Regions from separate parts of the Homo sapiens genome. Here region 1 is linked to region 2. The links are contacts of gene promoters, found by promoter capture Hi-C in blood cells and fetal thymus (Javierre and others, 2016). All regions are on one chromosome and are shown on one strand. Each heading gives the region's core, a stretch centred on a gene start or on the middle of the fragment in contact. The rest is flanking DNA. Distances are from core to core; before and after follow the strand shown.

The links. The method cuts DNA at HindIII sites, captures the fragments that hold promoters and counts their contacts. A CHiCAGO score of 5 or more calls a contact.
Region 1: a fragment that was not itself captured here is called in contact with the fragment with the promoter of SIGLEC10 in region 2 in 1 of 17 cell types (erythroblasts); the score reaches 5.1 in erythroblasts.

Annotation. Positions count from the first base shown.
Region 1 is chr19:51,699,408-51,702,362 of GRCh38, forward strand. SPACA6 (sperm acrosome associated 6) reads left to right here. Exons shown (of 9, transcript NM_001316972.2): 3 at 2,251-2,319. Among named protein-coding and RNA genes, the nearest start is that of SPACA6-AS1, 7.4 kb to the left of the region's middle. The HindIII fragment of the contact is 3,108 bases long and covers 1-2,955 here.
Region 2 is chr19:51,416,140-51,418,967 of GRCh38, forward strand. SIGLEC10 (sialic acid binding Ig like lectin 10) reads right to left here and starts at 1,503. Exons shown (of 11, transcript NM_033130.5): 1 at 1,406-1,503; 2 at 943-1,326; 3 at 527-811; 4 at 171-218; 5 at 1-28. The coding sequence starts at 1,442. It overlaps SIGLEC10-AS1 (SIGLEC10 antisense RNA 1), which reads left to right. Exons shown (of 3, transcript NR_164125.1): 2 at 290-591; 3 at 993-2,058. RefSeq lists enhancers at 1,433-1,602, 1,663-1,732. The HindIII fragment of the contact is 3,908 bases long and covers 1-1,941 here.

The DNA of each region.
Region 1 (2,955 bases), core at 301-2,800, 280 kb after region 2:
TTTTATCTGTGTTCTGTGGATATAGGTTATAGATATATAGGTATTTGGAGGCAGTGAACAATTCCTGTGTGTTGGTTTGCTAGGACCACTGTAACAAAGTACCGTAGACTGGGTGACTCGAACAACAGAAGTTTCTGCCTTCTAGAAGTCTGAGACCAAGGTTTTGGTGTCAGCAGGGTTAGTTTCTTCTCACGCCTCTCTCTTTGGCTTGTAGATGCCTTCCTTCATATGTCCCTGTGTGCATCTCTGTGTCCTAATTTCCTCTTCTCATAAGGACACCAATCATACTGCATTACAGCCCACCCTAATGACCTCATTTTAACTTAATCACCTCTTTAAGAACCAAGTACAGTCACATTCTGAGGTACTGGGAGTTAGGACTTCAACATACAAGTTTGGTTGCGGGGGATGGGGGGTGGGCGGCACGATTTAGCCGATAAAACCCTGCCACATTACTGATTTCCACAAATCACCACGAGATCAAGTCAGCTGTCTATTCTTATTCCACTGGAACAAGCCACAAACCCATACAATTTGGAGGCCATTGCAGTGGTCAAAACACAAGGCCAGGCATGGTGGCCCACACCTGTAATCCCAGCACTTTGGGAGGCCGAGGCAGGCGGATCACCTGAGGTTAGGAGTTTGAGACCAGCCTGGCCAACATGGTGAAACCCCATCTCTACTAAAAATATAAAAATTCGCCGAGCATGGTGGTGGGTGCCTGTAATCCTAGCTACTGGGGAGGCTGAGGCAGGAGAATCACTTGAACCTGGGAGGTGGAAGTTGCAGTGAGCCAAGATCACACCACTGTACGCCAGCCTGGGCAACAGAGCGAGACTCTATCTCAAAACAAAACAAACACCTACAAAGACAAGGAACATAAAAGAGTAAAAGATGGGTAAATATAGAAGTGAATAGAGGCTGGGGACTATGGAGAAGTGGCCGGTGTGTGCCCCATTTCAAGGGAGTGACTGCTACCCATCTCCAGCTAATTGCTGCCTTATGGAAATGCGATCTCTGTGTTACAGCTCTTCCAACTTTGTAAAAAAGAGATGCCAAACGTTTTATTTGACATTCCAAATTTTATATGTTGGCAACTGGTTCATTTTCTTTTAAACACTTTCCAGGCCAAATATAACACATCCCAGGGATGGATTTGGGTCATAGGCCACCAGCTGGGGTCTCCAGTTCAAGTTGGATCCTGGAATTCATTGTACAAATACTTACTGAGCACTTCTAAGACTGAGGGCCCTCTCCAGGATCCAGAGGACACAGTGCTACAGAAGAACATGTTTATTTACTTACGAGACAGACATAAGTGATCATCATCTATATATAAATATATGTAATTGCAGACAGATGAGAGCTAGGAATGAAATGATTGCGATGAGAGACAAAAACAGGGAACTTGGTTAGATTTGTGGTGATGGAAGGATGATTAGGAGAAGGAAAAATGTGCTAAAAACAAGCCAGCATGTGCAAAGGCCCTGAGGTGCTAGGGAATGTGGTGGTTTTCATATTAAAGGAAATGAGGCCAGGCACGGTGGCTCATGCCTGTAACCCCAGCACTTTGGGAGGCTGAGGTGGGTGGATCACTTGAGGTCAGGAGTTCGAGACCAGCCTGGCCAACATGGTGAAACCCCATCTCTACTAAAAACACAAAAATTAGCCAGGCGTGGTGGTGCACACCTGCAGTCCCTGCTACTCGGGAGGCTAGGGCAGGAGAATCACTTGAACCCAGGAGGCGGAGGTTGCGGTGAGCCGAGATCGCACCACTGCACTCCAGCCTGGGTGACAGTGAGACACTGTCTGAATAAAATAAAATAAAGGAAATGAAAGGTGGGCAGTAGGGATGGGACAGGGAGGGAGGGGGAACTAGGCCAAACCATGTAAGACCTAATAGGCCTTGGTGAGGAATTTGATCTTTATCCTCCCCTTCTCCCCCCAACAAGCTACATGCAGGTGATGTCCAGGAGGACTTCCATCCTGGAGAGATTCAGGAGGCAGAAGAAAGGAGACTTAGGGACTTGTTAGCCTTCAACTACAGAGGGCGGGTGATGAGAAGAGGAGCAGAGAATATGGTAATGAGAGGGGTGAAGAGGGGCCAGGGAAGGGCAGATACCATGACAGTACGTCCTGTGAGCTAGGGCCAGCCTAGCCCTAGCCAGGCTAGATCAGAATGCAGGACCAAGGACCAAGCCCTGGGGGAAGGGCTTTACTACACAGGCCGTCCTCCCCTCCACTCTCCAGGATCCTTTGAGGTTGCCTTCCCTGATGCTGCGGAGAAAATGAAGAAGGTCATTACACAGCTTAAAGAAGGTAAAATACACTCCATCTCTCCTTCCCCAGACACACACACACACAATTAGAAAACCCCACTTTTGGCCGGGGATGGTGGCTCACGCCTGTAATCCCAGCACTTTGGAAGGCTGAGGCGGGCAGATCACTTGAGATCAGGAGTTCAAAAGCAGTCTGACCAACATGGTGATACCCATATCTACTAAAGATACTAAAATTAGCTGGGCGTGGTAACGCATGCTTGTAATCTCATCTACTCAGGAGGCTGAGGCAGGAAAATTGCTTGAACCCTGGAGGCGGGGTTGCAGTGACCCGAGATCGGCACTCCAGCCTGGGTGACAGAGCAAGACTCCATCTCAAAACGAAACCCACTCCTGAGACCCCCCATCCACTCCCCGTACAATCCCCTGGCCCCATCTCTGAGCCTCAGACCTTGAGGGACGACTATTTCCCCGCGTGGACCATTTTTGATCTGGCCCCGCCCCTTCGATGAAAGGTTTCGTCTCCAACTGAGCCCCTTTCCGGGACTACTACTAACCTGGCCACGCCTCTTCTCTAACTGGGCCACCACCTTAGCCTTGGTCTCCTGCAAGGATCGCCCAGGATCTAGCCCCGCCTCCTCGGTGGAATACACCTGGATTGCCCATCCCCATCAGG
Region 2 (2,828 bases), core at 253-2,752:
ACATTTCCCTGGGGCTGGGGCTCCAGGGCTGGAGTGGGAGGAAAAAAAAAAAAGAGAGAAAGGGAGGGAGAAAGAGAGAAGGGGTACAGGGAGGAGCACATCCCCTCATCCCCTGAAGCCTTTTCATCTAAAGACAACTGGCCCAGCCCCAGCCCGACGGCCCTCAGTACCTGGCGTGTTGTCACGTGAAATGCTGATAACAAGGTCTCTGGGGGCATCTGCAACAAGATTGTGAGCTGGCTTCAGGGAGGGACAATTTATTCCTCACACCTGGAAAAAACTCCCTCAGGGAAAAGAAAGTGGGACTATCCCGGGAAGACAAGTGACAACCAGCGCCAGGGCTCACGTGTGTGGACCAGACGCCATTCCCATCCCCCTCCCAGGGCTGCGGCGGCATCCTGGGACCCCACAGCTTCCTCTCCCTGGATGCTCCTGAGCTGGGAGCCGCTCACTGTCCCACTGGGCTCCTCCACCTCCCCACCCACCGGGGCTGTCTGCACACCCCACCCTCCCAGGCCACACTCACAGGCCACACGGAGTCGGACGGTCCTCTGTGCGCTCACACCCTTTCTGGAGAAGTCCACATGGCAGGTGAGGTCGGTGTTGTGGTCCTGGGGTCTGGGCGTGAAGCTGAGCACTGAGAAGTGGGAGGTCGTTGGTTTGGTTCCTTGGGAGGAGAGGGCAGCCCCCGTCCAGGAGAAAGAAGGGGGTGGACATTCCTCAAAGGCCCAGTTAAACACACAGATGACCGTCACCGGCTGCCCGGGCTCCAGGGTCTCGGGGATGTAGACATCAGGCTTCTGAGTCAGGGCTGGGACAGAGACCGTGGTGGGAGATTCTTGTGCTGCAGGGGTCCCTGAGAGCCCTCTCTGCTCAGCCCATAGGCTGTCCCCAGGGTCCCTCCCCAGTGTGAGAGGCAGGGGTTCCCACCCCATTCCATACCTGTTACTTTTAGAAAGAACCCATCGTTCATGAAATTATATCTCACATAGCTTCCTCTCTCCACCCGAAAGAAGTACTGTGACTCATCCTGCATCTGCGCGTCTCTGATCACCAAGGAGCAGTTCCCCTTGGCGGGATCCCCAGTGAGCTGGAATCGGCCCCGGGTGCTCATTTCCACCTCTCGACTCTGGTGGTTTGTGGCCACAGGAGCACCCTTGGTTGTCTCAGTCACTGCTTTGAACCAGTAGCCATAAGCTGGGGTAGACCCTGTCCAGTCCTGTCGGGGGTAGGAGAAAGAGCAGGGCACAGAGATGCACAGGCCCTCCGGCACCATCACTGACTCCTGCACTCGTATCCAGAATCTCCCATCCATAGCCTGGGACCCTGTGGGGAGACAGAGGCTCAACCTGCAACCCCAGCCCTAGCTCCGCCCCAGGTCCTTTCCGGCCCTTGGCCCACTCACCGCCCAGCAGCGAGGACAGCAGCAGTGGCAGTAGCATCTCCGCATAGGAGGCGCAGGGCCTGCCTGAGACAGGCCTGTTCTCTGGTCGTGCTGTGAGTGGCTCAGGGCTCTTGGCAGAAGGGGAAGCCGAAGGCGGAAGCTGAGCCCTGGGGCCTGATGCATGAAATGAGCTTCAGACGCTGAGCTCACAGAACTCCTTTGCCTTCCCCCACACTCTCCGGCCCACCTTGCCCAGTTGTCCTCTGGGTCTCCTGGGGGCCCAGCCTGGCCTTGGGCTTGTTGAGCTGGTCCTTCCAGAGCTCCCTGTGTAGGAGGAGAGGGCAGGCTTGTGTCTATCCTGGGGGCCTGGCTGGGGGTGGGGTAGTGGGGTGGGGGCTCTCCCTCTGGGCCCTGGGTCATCGGAAAAGCAGAAGTGAGAAGTCCACAGTGAGCTACCCTTATCTGGGCCACTGGTGGTGGAGGTGGTGGGTACAGGGGAAGGGACCGTTACTGGAGGGGGCTGGTCTTGTCAGGTAAAATGCAGGATGCCTGGTTAAAGCTTTCACAGACAATATAAAGTATTTTATTTTATGTTTTTTGGTATAAGTATGTCCGAAATGCTGCATGGGATATACTTATACCAGAAAGCAAAATAAATTTATCTGAAATTCAAATTAATTAATTAATTAATTATATTTTGAGACAGAGTCTCACTCTGTCACCCAGGCTGCAGTGCAGTGGTGCAATCTCTGCTTACTGCAACCTCCACCTCCCAGGCTGAAGTGATTCTCCTGCCTCAGCCTCCTGAGTCTGGGCTTACAGGCACGCGCCACCACGCCAAGCTAATTTTTGTATTTTTAGTAGAGGTGGGGTTTCACCATGTTGGCAGGGCTGGTTTTGAACTCCTGACCTCAAATGATCCACCTGCCTTGACCTCCCAAAGTGCTGAGATTACAGGTGTGAACCACCGCACCTGGCCTAAAATTCAAATTTAACTGAGCATGTTGAATTTCTTTTTTTCTAAATCTGGCCACCGTAGGGTGGTGTCAGCTCCACCTCTTCATGCTTCCTGGTGAGCTCACTGACCCTTGGTCCCCAGAAGCAGTCTCCTGCCCCAACCAGGCCCTAGTCCACTTCCCAGTCTCCCTTCCTCCTCTGTCATTCAATTGGGACACCCATTGGGATTAGAACACATATGTCCAAAGCTAATGCTGATGGGAAGAGTTTGAGGAAGGCGGGAGTGAGGGGCAGAGTGGGGGGAACAGACTAGGGAAGGGGTAATTTGCAATGAATGGAGTAAACTCTACAAGATGTTTTCCCCTCACTGAGCTCTTCCTGAAATGACTCTGTTTGGGTCACACCGAAACACAGAACTCATCCTTCAACCTCCACATACCTTGGGTATCAAGCACTGAGCTTTAGGGGGACTTGGAGGTGAATCCTC